3 separate regions of the Homo sapiens genome follow, and regions 2 and 3 are each linked to region 1. Evidence: promoter capture Hi-C in human tissues and cell types (Jung and others, 2019). All regions are on one chromosome and are shown on one strand. Each heading gives the region's core, a stretch centred on a gene start or on the middle of the fragment in contact. The rest is flanking DNA. Distances are from core to core; before and after follow the strand shown.

Region 1 (4,115 bases), core at 397-2,896:
CGTACTTTTCTCATTGCCCTAGTCCTGGTATGCCTAATGGCGGGGAAAGCCTCAAATAAACTCGGTGCCCTCTGGATCTCCCCAACCTGCCTTTAGTCCTTGCGAGAGGCGTGAGAGAACTTCCTATTATCATCCCTTTTGTTATTTTTATTACATTATTTAATAGGCTCCCTCTACGGAACCAAAAATAGCCTTAATATGCTTACTTTCTCCCTGTACTCCGCCCCAAACTGTTAGAACAGCAGAAAATTTTTTTTTGGGGGGGGGCGGTTTGGGGGAAGGCAGAAGGAGAAGAAAATTTGATTGTGATGGTGGTGGATTTTTTCCAAATTTCCCCACAGCTGTTATCAAAACATGCAAATGAGATTTTCCAACAGGATCTTAAACAAATCTGGAGGAGTTAATGCCGAAGCAAAATAATCAGCACGTTTGAAGTGACTGTGAGTTTCAGTTTGTCTTTTCTCCCCGTGATATTATTGCAGGGGAATGATAATTAGACCTTTAGAAATCCAAAGGGGCTCTCTTGCTCTCTTCCCTCTCTCATTTCTCTTCTCTCTTTCTCTCTCTCTCTCTCTCCCTTCCTCCCTCCCTCCCTCCCTCTCTCCCTCCCTCTCTCTTGTTCCCTCCCTCTCCCTTTCTCTCTAACTCTGATGTTGGCAAAGGGGGTTTTCTTAATCAGACTGTTTTTTGGTCCCAGGGAAAGGAGGAAGAAGGAGATTGTGATGGAGAAAGGGGGTCTGTGAAACGTCAGGCACAGCACAAAGGCTTTGCCACGTAATTACAGGCTCCTATTAAGTCGAGATCTGCCCTCCCAGGGGTCTCCAATTTTCTTGTATTCCCTACAAAGCCTCCTCTGCATGCCAGTTTGTGCCTTTTGAAGTGCCAGAGAGCTTCTTGATCCAACTGAGAAGGAAAAAGGAGCCCAGCAAGAAGAGGGGGAGAGAGAGAAGGGGAAAGGGGGGAACCCACCAGCACCCTCCGTCGGACTCTTGAAGCCTTTTTTTTTTAATTCTTAATTTTTTTTTTTACTCTTTACAAAAAGTAAAGTGAGAATCCTGCTCTCTAATACATCTGCAAGACATCACCCTCTCCTCCTGAAACTTTAGTCACTCCTGAGAATCCACAGGAGTGCAGAGAGGGGGGAACACGTTTTCTTGAAGATGTTTTAAAGCTGGAACAAGCCTTCTTCTGTTGGTGCTTGAACTCTTGCCTGGGAATAACTTTTTTAACCTTTAAAAAAACCATTCACTTTGATTCTTCTCTCCCACCCCTTCTTCTCTCTTCTTCTGTTTGCCTAACTCCCCCGCCCTGCTGGCCTCCGCTTTCCTCTCTCCCCCTTGTTATTATTTTTAGTCTGTGCGTGTGGACACTTTTGGAGAGTTGGAAGGGATTTTTTTCTCCTGACTTGAACATAGGGTGACTTTTTAATATTGTATTTTACTGTGGATTATCTCTTTGGACCGCGCCGGACTTGGCCTCAGGAAATCAACCAATGCTGCGGAAGGCGGCTGGTGCACAACGCTCTGCTCTACAGAAGGGGGTCCCCCACCCTCTTTTCCAATTTTTTTTTTTTGGCCTTCCTCTCCTTCCCTCCCTCTTCCTCCCTCTCTCTCTCTCTCTCTCCACTACCCCCCTCTTTCTTCCCCACTCGGCTCCTCTCCCCCCTCGCGCCCACAGCGTTTGGTGTTGATTCGAGCGGGAAGAGGGGGGTGGGTGGGATCGGTGGGGGAGACCATGACCTCCAGCTACGGGCACGTTCTGGAGCGGCAACCGGCGCTGGGCGGCCGCTTGGACAGCCCGGGCAACCTCGACACCCTGCAGGCGAAAAAGAACTTCTCCGTCAGTCACCTGCTAGACCTGGAGGAAGCCGGGGACATGGTGGCGGCACAGGCGGATGAGAACGTGGGCGAGGCTGGCCGGAGCCTGCTGGAGTCGCCGGGACTCACCAGCGGCAGCGACACCCCGCAGCAGGACAGTGAGTGAGGGGCGCATGCCCACGGGGGTGTGTGCCCGGGACAGAGGGCGGGGACCCGTGTAGGGCAGCTAGAGCCCGTCCGCGGCCAGAAAGACAAGGTCCTGGGACCAGGAGAGGTGATGGCAGACTTCAAAGGAAGGGCCAGTCACAGGGGAAACCAGATGAGAAAAGCGGGTCTCGGCCGAGGGCATAGCCAAGGAGGACGCTGGAGAGAGGCTCCAAGGTCCGGGGACACTCCGAGGCCCTGCGGTCTCAGGCAGGGACTCTGTCCGCGGCGGACTCTCTTTACTTCGGCTAGGCACCGGCTCGGTTCATCCCGCACGCGGGGCGGCGGGGCTGGGCTGGGAAAAGGTCTTAGCGGGGTGCAAACTCAGAGAGCCAGCGCTGTTTGGGAAAGCAGCAGGTTAAAGATGCTGAGTCGGGTTGGAAGGGCTTCTCTCGGGCAGCGTATGACGGCTTGAGGGAGGGCACCAGGCACAGGGAGCAGGACTTGGCGCTGCTCAGGCTGCACTCTCCACGCGGGCACCGTAAGGCCGGGCGCGACCGGGAGGCCCCGAGAGAACGCCCGGCCCCAGACGCTGGAGCTGCTCTCTGCCCCCTGCTGTTGCCTCTACCGCAAATGGGTTTGAGACTGGCAGAGTCAAAAGCCCGGCTGGCTTGGGAAAACTCGGGCCAAGCAAAGGGAATGTCCTTTAAGGGTGAAACCTGAAATCCAGCCCCGCATGATCCCGCACAGGCGAGCTGCATCCGGGAGGCGCGAGCTTCAGTGCGGAGGCCAGTGTCACCTTAGAGGAGCTCTCCCTATTGGCTCTTAAACGCCCAGAAAAGTCCAGTTTCCCTTCCCCATCCTCACCGACCAACCTCGCGACCCATGAAAATCTCGCTTCGCTAGTGCCTTAAAAAGAGACTGCAATTGTATCCCCATGCCCCCAAGTCTGTAACAGACCGGTCACCCTGTTCATCCCAGGTGACATGTGGCCAGATATGTACAGATACTCCCTCTTCTCCTCGAGGTTGCAAGAGTCTGAACTTAGCTGTAAGTTCTCAAATGAGGCTGGTTGCTTTCTATGTCAGTAGTTGCTGGTTACCATTTTTGTCTTCAAATTTGGAAATCGTGGAACCGGGGGGCCCTCCAGCATTCTATGATTTTCACAAAACGTTGCCTATTTCAGACTCTCAAAGAATAGACATACAAATCAAACTGCACATAGAAACAATTGGAAACAGGGTCCGGGCACAGTGGTGGCCCCGCGGGCCACGCTACAGCAAGCCGCAGAGAGAGCCTCTGGTGTGCTCAAGACGCCTGGTCTTCACCCTGCTTCCTTAGTTCCGGCCTGGGCGCCCCTGGGTGTTTTTAGCCAAAAGCGGCCTAGGGCCGATCCACCCAATGCATTAGCAGACTGCTACAGGAACTGAATGAGGAAGTCTGGCCTGGACACCAGAGAAAGGTGGCCAACTCTGAGGAATGAAGAACCAGGTGTCCTCAAGTTCCGCATAAAGGGCTAGGCGCAGAGACAGAGACGTTCTCTTTAGGGTTTGGGTGCTTGAGAGGCTGCACCCGCAGCATTACTTAAGTGTTTGCATAGGCACTCTTAGTTCTAACAAAATGCACTGAGAAATACTATGATTGTTTTTAAACGTTTTACCAGGGAAAATGAAAAACGAAAAATGTAGGGAGAGTCCAGGCGCGGTGGCTCACGCCTGTAATCCTAGCACTTTGGGAGGCCGAGGCGGGCAGATCACGAGGTCAGGAGTTCGAGACCAGCCTAACCAACGTGGTGAAACCCCTCTCTCCTAAAAATACAAAAATTAGCCGGGCGTAGTGCCGAGCGCCTGTAATCCCGGTTACTCAGCAGGCTGAGGCAGGAGAATCGCTTAAACCCGGGAAGCAGAGGTTGCAGTGAGCCCAGATAGTGCCACTGCACTCCAGTCTGGATGACAGAGTGAGACTCCGTCTCAAAAAAAAAAAAAAAAAAAAAAAGTAGGGAGAACAGCATTTGGTGTAGACCCCAGCTTCACCAATTCTGCACGTCCAGTCGTTTCTGTTTTGCCAGGACGACTTATTAATTGCAACATTTACCACTGTTCGGATACTAGAGGCTGGACCCACAACAGAAAACAGGACCACGAAGAAACTTCT
Region 2 (3,987 bases), core at 547-3,046, 54 kb after region 1:
TTGCTCTGGCTGGAGGTCCCAAGTCCGCATTGTGATTTTGGGCAAGTCACGTTGTTCTTCTAGATCTAATTTAACTCATCTGTAAAATAAGATGGTTGAATTCGACAATTTCATGGGTTTCATTAGATGCCAATATTTTATGACTCATGATCCCAGCAAGACTACACCTATTTATAAGGCTGTTTTGCTTGTTTTTACTAAGAGCAACAATAACTACATATTTTCAGTTTACTCAATCATCAAAAAAATTATAAAATCCATAAACACTTTGGATTTGAAACATTGCAACTTTGATAAAAAATGTATCCATGTAGGCCAGGAGCAGTGGCTCACGCCTGTAATCCCAGCACTTTGGGAGGCCGAGGCAGGTGGATCACGAGGTCAGGAGATCGAGACCATCCCGGCTAACACGGTGAAACCTCGTTTCTACTAAAAATACAAAAAATTAGCTGGGCGTGGTGGCAGGTGCCTGTAGTCCCAGCTACTCGGGAGGCTGAGGCAGGAGAATGGTGTGAACCCAGGAGGCGGAGGTTGCGGTGAGCCAAGATCGCGCCACTGCACTCCAGCCTGGGCGACAGAGCGAGACTCCATCTCAAAAAAAAAAAAAAAAATGTATTCATGTTTCCGCTGGTTATTCTACAACTTGGTGAATCCTTCCCATTTTAGAATGCCAAAGAATGAGATGCATTCTAATATCCAGTTGGATGTCAGTATCTTCAGACAGCATGTTTCAAAATCAACTTTCACTGTAGTTGTTTTTGCAAGAAAAGATGACCCTCTTGGAATTAGTAAAAATACACTGCTTTCTCTCCCCTGTATTCAACCAGAGCCAAGAATCTGATAAATGTGTTTATCACAGGTCCTTCAGATACCCTGCATTTGTAAACCTCTACAGTGTTTATGTTTCCTTTTGTACTGCTGAAGATACTGTGCTGGGTCCTGTTCTGCATTCTTGGGGAAAAACAGGGAGCTCACATTTTGTGATTAGTGAGCAAAGACAGACCATCCCCAGGACTGCTGCTCGAGCTGTCTCTGTTGCCCGCTCATCGTCTCTTTCTATTATACTTGCACTCTGAAGGACATTTGCCAGAGCCAGACTCCCTGGATCCCTGTTATTTGTGTCTTTTCTCACCTTCAACATGATCTGAACTAGTGTTTTCATTTGTTAAAAACAACAAGAACATTCACTGGGAAACTTTTGCTGGAATTGCTTCAGGTCATCATAGCTATTTATTCCCTGTCATAAACTATAATTCTCCATTTCCCTTACTCCCACATCAGGGGAGTTGGTGGTTTATGGTAGACAGTCAGTGGAATTTGATTGAACAGTGGAATATTTCAAAGAACTACTGAGATTATGTAGCAGGTTGTAATACTAAGAACAAAACATAAAATATTCTTGGTCTTGATTGCAGTTGGCAGTACAAGAAGAAATAGGCTTTTGAAACAACATAAAAGATTTATAATTTGTGGTTGCACCTAAGAAAGAATTTTCTTTGAGAGAAGAAAACAAGTCATGGGATTGGCTTAATAGGGGATTTTCTCTATATGATTAAAAATAATGGCTTAGTGTCTAATTGGTCTCAGTTAAAACAAAGTACAGAAGCTAAGGATTTTTCTTTTTTTTTTTTGCAGACTTCTGTTTTGGGGGCATGAAATTCAGATAATTGTGCTATCACAAGGGCTTGTATTACTTAGAAAGACCTGAAGTACGAGACAAAATGATTTGGAAAAATGAATAGGAATGGGAGGAATGCTTCCAAATATTAAATAGGAAGGAGAATGCAAGTGCAATGTAACTACTGAAAGGTATTTAATCCTAGGTGTTTGAATTCTAGTGCTGATCTTATTGCAAACTAATTTTGCTAATAGCTAGTGGTATAATCAGTGATGTTGGTTGGAATATTTTAGGCATTGGTAGATCTCAAAAATTATTATTAAATTTGCTCCATTTCCAAGATGCAGCTGATCTTACATTCTTACTGAGTGTCACAGAAGTGCCACCAAAGCTGGGCCCTGAGGTAAGGCACCACAAGTGTAAAATACCAAAGAGAAGGTGGACTGTACAAAACCATGAAGCAGAGAGAAAGGTATGGTAGCTTCTTGGCTGGAGGAATCTGGTTGAGATCATCTGACATTTTTTTCTACAGAAACAGTCTTCTAAGGACAAGAGGAGTTTCACGTTTTCCCTGAAAACAAACTCAGCAAGCATTTACTATATCTGGGTGCTTTAATTATCAAGAAGAAATGTGCAGTCTCTATTCTAAGCTTCAAGGGTATTCCTGGTAAGGAAGCATTGATGAAGAAGGATTCTCTTAGCAAAAGACTTAGAGGCCTCAGTTGTCAGGCCTCTGGATTTAAGCTACATTTTGACTCTGTACACAAATCTAGATCATTCCCTCAATTTGTAATAAAAACAATATTATAGCTGAGGTAGGTGTCATCATGACTTGTGCTAATAGTTTTGCTGAGTACATTGTGTGTTTATAATCAGAGAGAATCAGGAGAATTTGCATATTAGAAGAGAGAGCCAAAAGTACTTTCTAAATAGTGAATGGCCAAGCTCTCCTTGTTCTCCCCATCCTCACTCCAACACTTCATAATTTTCTTTGGGCTGAGCCTCTTTGGGGAAAAGCTATGGGGAATGTAAGTCAAGTTCATTAGATGGAGCATGTGACTTGGGTTTTGGCAGCATGGTGTTGCAAATCTCTGGGACCTACACAGGCTCTGCAGAGCTCAGGCCTTAGGGTGATAGTTTGATTGAGGTGTCAGCACAGCTGGTATTCCATTCAGTTTCACATATACATCACTCCTGACTGGGCTGGGTGGGGGCAGCAGGAGAGGAGCATACTACACTCTGACTGCTATGGACAACCTGGACAATTATCTCACCACGCTACCTTCAGGGGAACTCAGAGAAAACCAAGGAAGGATCTTGACAGGTAAAAATGGAGTTGTGATTCTTCAAAGGTCCCTAAGATCTCAGGGTCCTAGAACTCAAGTTTGAGTGAAACATTTTCAGGGATCTTTCTGAACTGTTTCCTGTTCTTGGGTTCTCAGGGAGTGAGCCCCAGGCTAATGTTAGCTTGGGTTGATGGCATTGTAGCACTAGTCCTGATCTAGGCTGAGGCCTCTGAAGCCTGCCTTTGCAACAGCATGGAGCCTTGAGTGAATGGTGTTAGAAATTACTTGCTGCTTCAAGGAGAGTTCATGGTAAAACAAATCCCTGTAATGTGGTTTGAACATAGTTTCCTCTCTATAACTCTATGTATTTGTTCATGTATATATGTTAGGAGAGAAGGAACCAGGAGATAATTGGTCTACTTGATTATTAAACTATATGAGTGAGCATAATATTGTCAAAGACAAATAAGGTACAAAACCATTTACTCTTCTTCCTTTATCTCTAGAGAAGTCCAAAGAACATGGGCAGGGGTAAGATTTTCCTTGACAAACAGGCATCAAGGATCATGCAAGTAATGTCTCTCTGACAGTTCAGATCTTGTCCCAGATTTAGAGGCAACAGCCAAGCATTAGAGTTGCTGGGATTCTTGACATATGAACTTGAGAGCGCTAATGGCCACATTTGCACATGCAAAGTGGCATTTGGCTATAGGACTTTGATAAAGATGTGAGCAAATGAAGCAAGATCTCACTATAGATATACCATAAAAAAGTCTTAACTGGGACTCCTACAGTGAATTTGGCTTCTTTTCATCATTGTGTTCTATTCCAGATGACCAGCTGAACTCAGAAGAAAAAAAGAAGAGAAAGCAGCGAAGGAATAGGACAACCTTCAATAGCAGCCAGCTGCAGGCTTTGGAGCGTGTCTTTGAGCGGACACACTATCCTGATGCTTTTGTGCGAGAAGACCTTGCCCGCCGGGTGAACCTCACCGAGGCGAGAGTGCAGGTAACTCAAGCTGTGAGAGGCTGGCACCAAGTAGTACCCTCCTCAGAGGCACATCTCTGAAAACTGTTTAAAAAC
Region 3 (4,139 bases), core at 944-3,443, 63 kb before region 1:
ACTTTACAAAAAGTCTTAACATTTATTCACATAATTTCCATTATTGATGCTCTTCATCCCTTTATTTAGATCCAGATTTCCATCTGGACTAGTTTCTTGTAATGTGGGTCTGATGGTGATAAATTCTTTCAGATTTTGTGTCTGAAAATGTCTTTATTTCACTTTTGATTTTGAAAGATATTTTGACTGAATAAAGAATTCTGTGTTTGACAGGTTTATTTTTTCCTTTCAGTACAGTCATGCACTGCATAACAATGTTTCAGTCAACAACAGACTGCATATAAGATGGTGGTCCCATAGATTATAATGAAGCTGAAAAACTATCATCTAGTGATGATGTCATAGTGAAACACATTACTCGTGTTTGTGGTGCTGCTGGTGTAAGCAAATCTGCTTTATAAACTTTATAAAGTAAAAAGATTATAGAAAGCTAAGGCTAATTTATTATTGAAGAAAGATAAGTATTTTAAAATACTCACCCAGAGAAACTTCCAGTCCTGCAAGCTTCATTTATGGTAAGTGCTCTCTACAGATGTGCTATTTTAAAAATCTTTTCTCCTGTATTTTTACTGTATCTTTATCTTTTCTCAGTTTGAATATGTTTAGATGCACAAATACTTATCATTGCATTACAGTTGTCTATGGTGTTCAGTACAGTAACATACTGCACAGGTTTGTAGTCTAGGAGCAGTAAGTTATGCCATATAGCCTATGTGTGTAATAGACTATACCATCTAGGTTTGTATAAGTGCACTCTGTGATGTTCACACAATGACAAAACCCCCTAAAAATGCATTTCTCAGATTGTGTCACCATTGTTGAATGATGCATTATTGTAATTTAAAGATGTTGCTCCACTGCCTTTTCACTTTCATTACTTTGATGAAAATGTACTATCATCCTTATGGTTGTTCCTTTGTAGGTAATATGCCTTCTTTGGCTGCTTTAAGATTTTTTTCTATTATTATTTTGAAGAAATTTAAGTATGATAGTTCTTGGTGTAATTTTCTTCATTTGTTTAGCTTTTTGGATCTGTAAGCTTATAGTTTTCATTCAATTTGGAACTGTTTTGGTCATTATTTTGGCATCACAGTGTCCCTCCATATCTGCTGGTTCTACATCTAAGTGTTCAATCAACTGAAGATAAAAAGAACAATAAAAATAATAATACAACAATAAAAAAGAATACAAATGAAAAACAATACAGTATAACAACTATTTGCATAGTATTTACATTGTATTATATTATATATCTAATATATATTGTATTATATTAGTTAATATAATGTAAATTACTTATAATATGGAGATGACTTAAGTGTATGGGAGAATGTGCATAGGTTATATGCAAATACTATGACATTTTATATAAGATACTTGAGAATTCTTAGATTTTTGGTATCTTAGTAGGGATTTCTGAATAGAGAAATCTCCTCGGATACAGAGGGATGACTGTATTCCTTCAGTTTTTTTCTGTCCTCCCTGCCCTTAATACTTTGGGGACTGGAATTATGTGTATATTAGCCTGCTTGAAGTTGTTACACAATTCATTAAAGCTCTGTTTGTCTTTTTTGTTTTAGTATTTTATTTTTCTCTGTGATTTATTTTGGATAGTTTCTATTGCTGTATCTTTAAGTTCACTACCAATCTTTTCCTCTGCAATGTTTAATCTGCCATTAATCCTGTCCATTGTATTTTTCATTTGGGTCATTGTTTTCATCTTTAGAAGTTTAATTTGGTTCTCTTTTATATCTTTCATGTTTCTAATTAACATGTTTAATTTTTCTTCTAGCTTTTTAAACATCTGGAATTCTGTTATAATTGTGTTAATGACCTTGTCTACTAACGCTATTATCTGTGTCATTTATGTGTTAGTTTTGACTAATTGGGTTTTTCAAATACCATATTATCAATCATATGAGTTGCAAGACTGATAATATTTTTTATTGGATGCCAGATATTATGAATTTTACCTCTCTCAGAGCTGAGATTTTTTATTCCTATAAATATTTTTGAGTCTTATTTTAGGACATTGTTAAATTATTTAGAAACAGTTTAACCCTTGAGCTTTATTTTAGGACATTGTTAAATTATTATTATTATTGTTATTGTTATTTTCAAGATAGGGTCTTACTCTGTCACCCAGGCTGGAGTGCAGTGGAGTGATCTTGGCTCACTTCAACCTCCACCTCCTGGGTTCAACTGATTCTCTGCCTCAGCCTCCTGAGTAGCTGGGACTACAGGTGCATGCCACCACTCCTGCCTAATTTTTGTATTTTTAGTAGAGATGGGTGTATTAGTCCGTTTTACACTGCTGATAAAGACATACCAGAGACTTGGCAATTTACAAAAGAAAGAAATTTAATGGACTTTCAGTTCCATGTGGCTGGGGAAGCCTCACACTCATGGTGGGAGGTGAAAAGCCCTGTCTCACACAGCAGCAGATAAGAGAAGTGTTGTGCAGGGAAATTCTCATTTTCAAAATCATTAGATCTCATGAGACTCATTCACCATCACAAGAACAGCACAGGAAAGACCCTCCCCCATAATTCAATCACCTCCCACTGGGTTCCTCTCACGACATGTAGGAATTGTGGGAGTTACAATTCAAGATGAGATTAGGGACACAGTCAAACCATATTGTTTCATCCCTGACCCCTCCCAAATCTCACGTCCTCACATTTCAAAACCAATCATACTTCCCCAACAGTCCCCCAAAGTCTTAACCCAAATTCCACAGTCCAAAGTCTCATCTGAAATAAGGCAAGTCCCTTCCGCCTATGAGCCTGTAAAATCAAAAGCAAGCTAATTACTTCCTAGATACAATGGGGGTACATTGGTTTTGGGTAAATACAGGTATTACAGGTATTGGGTAAATACAGCCATTCCAAATGGGGGAAATTGGCCAAAACAAAGGGGTTACAGGGCCTATGCAAGTCTGAAATCCAGCGGGGCAGTCAAATTTTAAAGCTCCAAAATGATTTCCTTTGACTCCAGGTCTCACATCCAGGTCATGCTGATGCAAGAGGTGGGTTCCCATGGTCTTGGGCAGCTCTGCCTCTGTGGCTTTGCAGGGTACCGCCTCCCTCATAGCTGCTTTCAGGGGCTGGCATTGAGTGCTTGTGGCTTTTCCAGGTGCATGGTGCAAGCTGTCAGTGGATCTACCATTCTGGGGTCTGGAGGATGGTGGCCTTCTTCTCACAGCTCCACTGGGTGGTACTCCAGTAGGGACTGTGCTTGGGGGTTCCAACCCCACATTTCCCTTCTGTGCTGCCCTAGCAGAGGTTCTCCATGAGGAACCTGCTCCTGCAGCAAGCTTCTGCCTGGTCATCCAGGTGTTTCCATACATCTTCTGAACTCTATGAAAAGGTTACCAAACCCCAGTTCTTGACTTGTGTGTACTCACAGGCTCAACACCACATGGAAGCTGCCATGGTTTGGGGCTTGCACCCTCTGAAGCCACAGCCAGAGCTCTATGTTGGACCCTTCAGCCATAGCTGGAGCAGCTTAGATGCAGGACACCAAGTCCCTAGGCTGCACACAGCATGGGGACCCTGGGTCCAACCTGTGAAACCATTTTTTCCTCCTAGGCCTCTGGGCCTGTGTTGGGAGGGGCTGCCATGAAGGTCTCTGACATGGCCTGGAGACATTTCACCATTGTCTTGGGGATTAACATTCGGCTCCTTATTACTTATGCAAATTTCTGCAACTGGCTTGAATTTCTTCTTAGAAAATGCTATTTTATTTTCTATGGCATTGTCAGGCTGCAAATTTTCTGAACTTTTATGGTCTGTTTCCCTTATAAAACTGAATGCCTTTAACAGCACACGAGTAACCTCTTGAATGCATTGCTGCTTAGAAATTTCTTCCACCAGGTACCCCAAATCATCCCGCTCAAGTCCAAAGTCCCACAAATCTCTAGGGAAGGGACAAAATGCCACCAGTCTCTTTGCTAAAACATAACAAGAGTCACCTTTGCTCCAGTTCCCAACAAGTTCCTCATCTCCATCTGAGACCATCTCAGACTGGATTTCATTGTCCATATCATTATCAGCATTTTGATCAAAGCCATTTAACAAGTCTCTAGGGAGTTCCAAACTTTCCCACATTTTCCTGTCTTCTTCTGAGCCATCCAAACT

What was found. Contacts are between HindIII fragments. The study calls those that stand out against the background at their distance.
Region 2: a contact is called between a fragment that was not itself captured here and the fragment with the promoter of PRRX1 in region 1, in 2 of the 25 tissues and cell types used here (bladder and spleen).
Region 3: a fragment that was not itself captured here is called in contact with the fragment with the promoter of PRRX1 in region 1 in 1 of the 25 tissues and cell types used here (adrenal gland).

What each region holds. Positions count from the first base shown.
Region 1 is chr1:170,662,485-170,666,599 of GRCh38, forward strand. PRRX1 (paired related homeobox 1) reads left to right here and starts at 1,647. Exons shown (of 4, transcript NM_022716.4): 1 at 1,647-1,975. The coding sequence starts at 1,735. RefSeq lists enhancers at 552-1,079, 2,280-3,140. The HindIII fragment of the contact is 17,405 bases long and covers 1-4,115 here.
Region 2 is chr1:170,715,990-170,719,976 of GRCh38, forward strand. PRRX1 (paired related homeobox 1) reads left to right here. Exons shown (of 4, transcript NM_022716.4): 2 at 3,737-3,912. Among named protein-coding and RNA genes, the nearest start is that of PRRX1, 54 kb to the left of the region's middle. The HindIII fragment of the contact is 8,530 bases long and covers 1-3,987 here.
Region 3 is chr1:170,598,501-170,602,639 of GRCh38, forward strand. No RefSeq gene overlaps it. Among named protein-coding and RNA genes, the nearest start is that of PRRX1, 64 kb to the right of the region's middle. The HindIII fragment of the contact is 5,037 bases long and covers 1-4,139 here.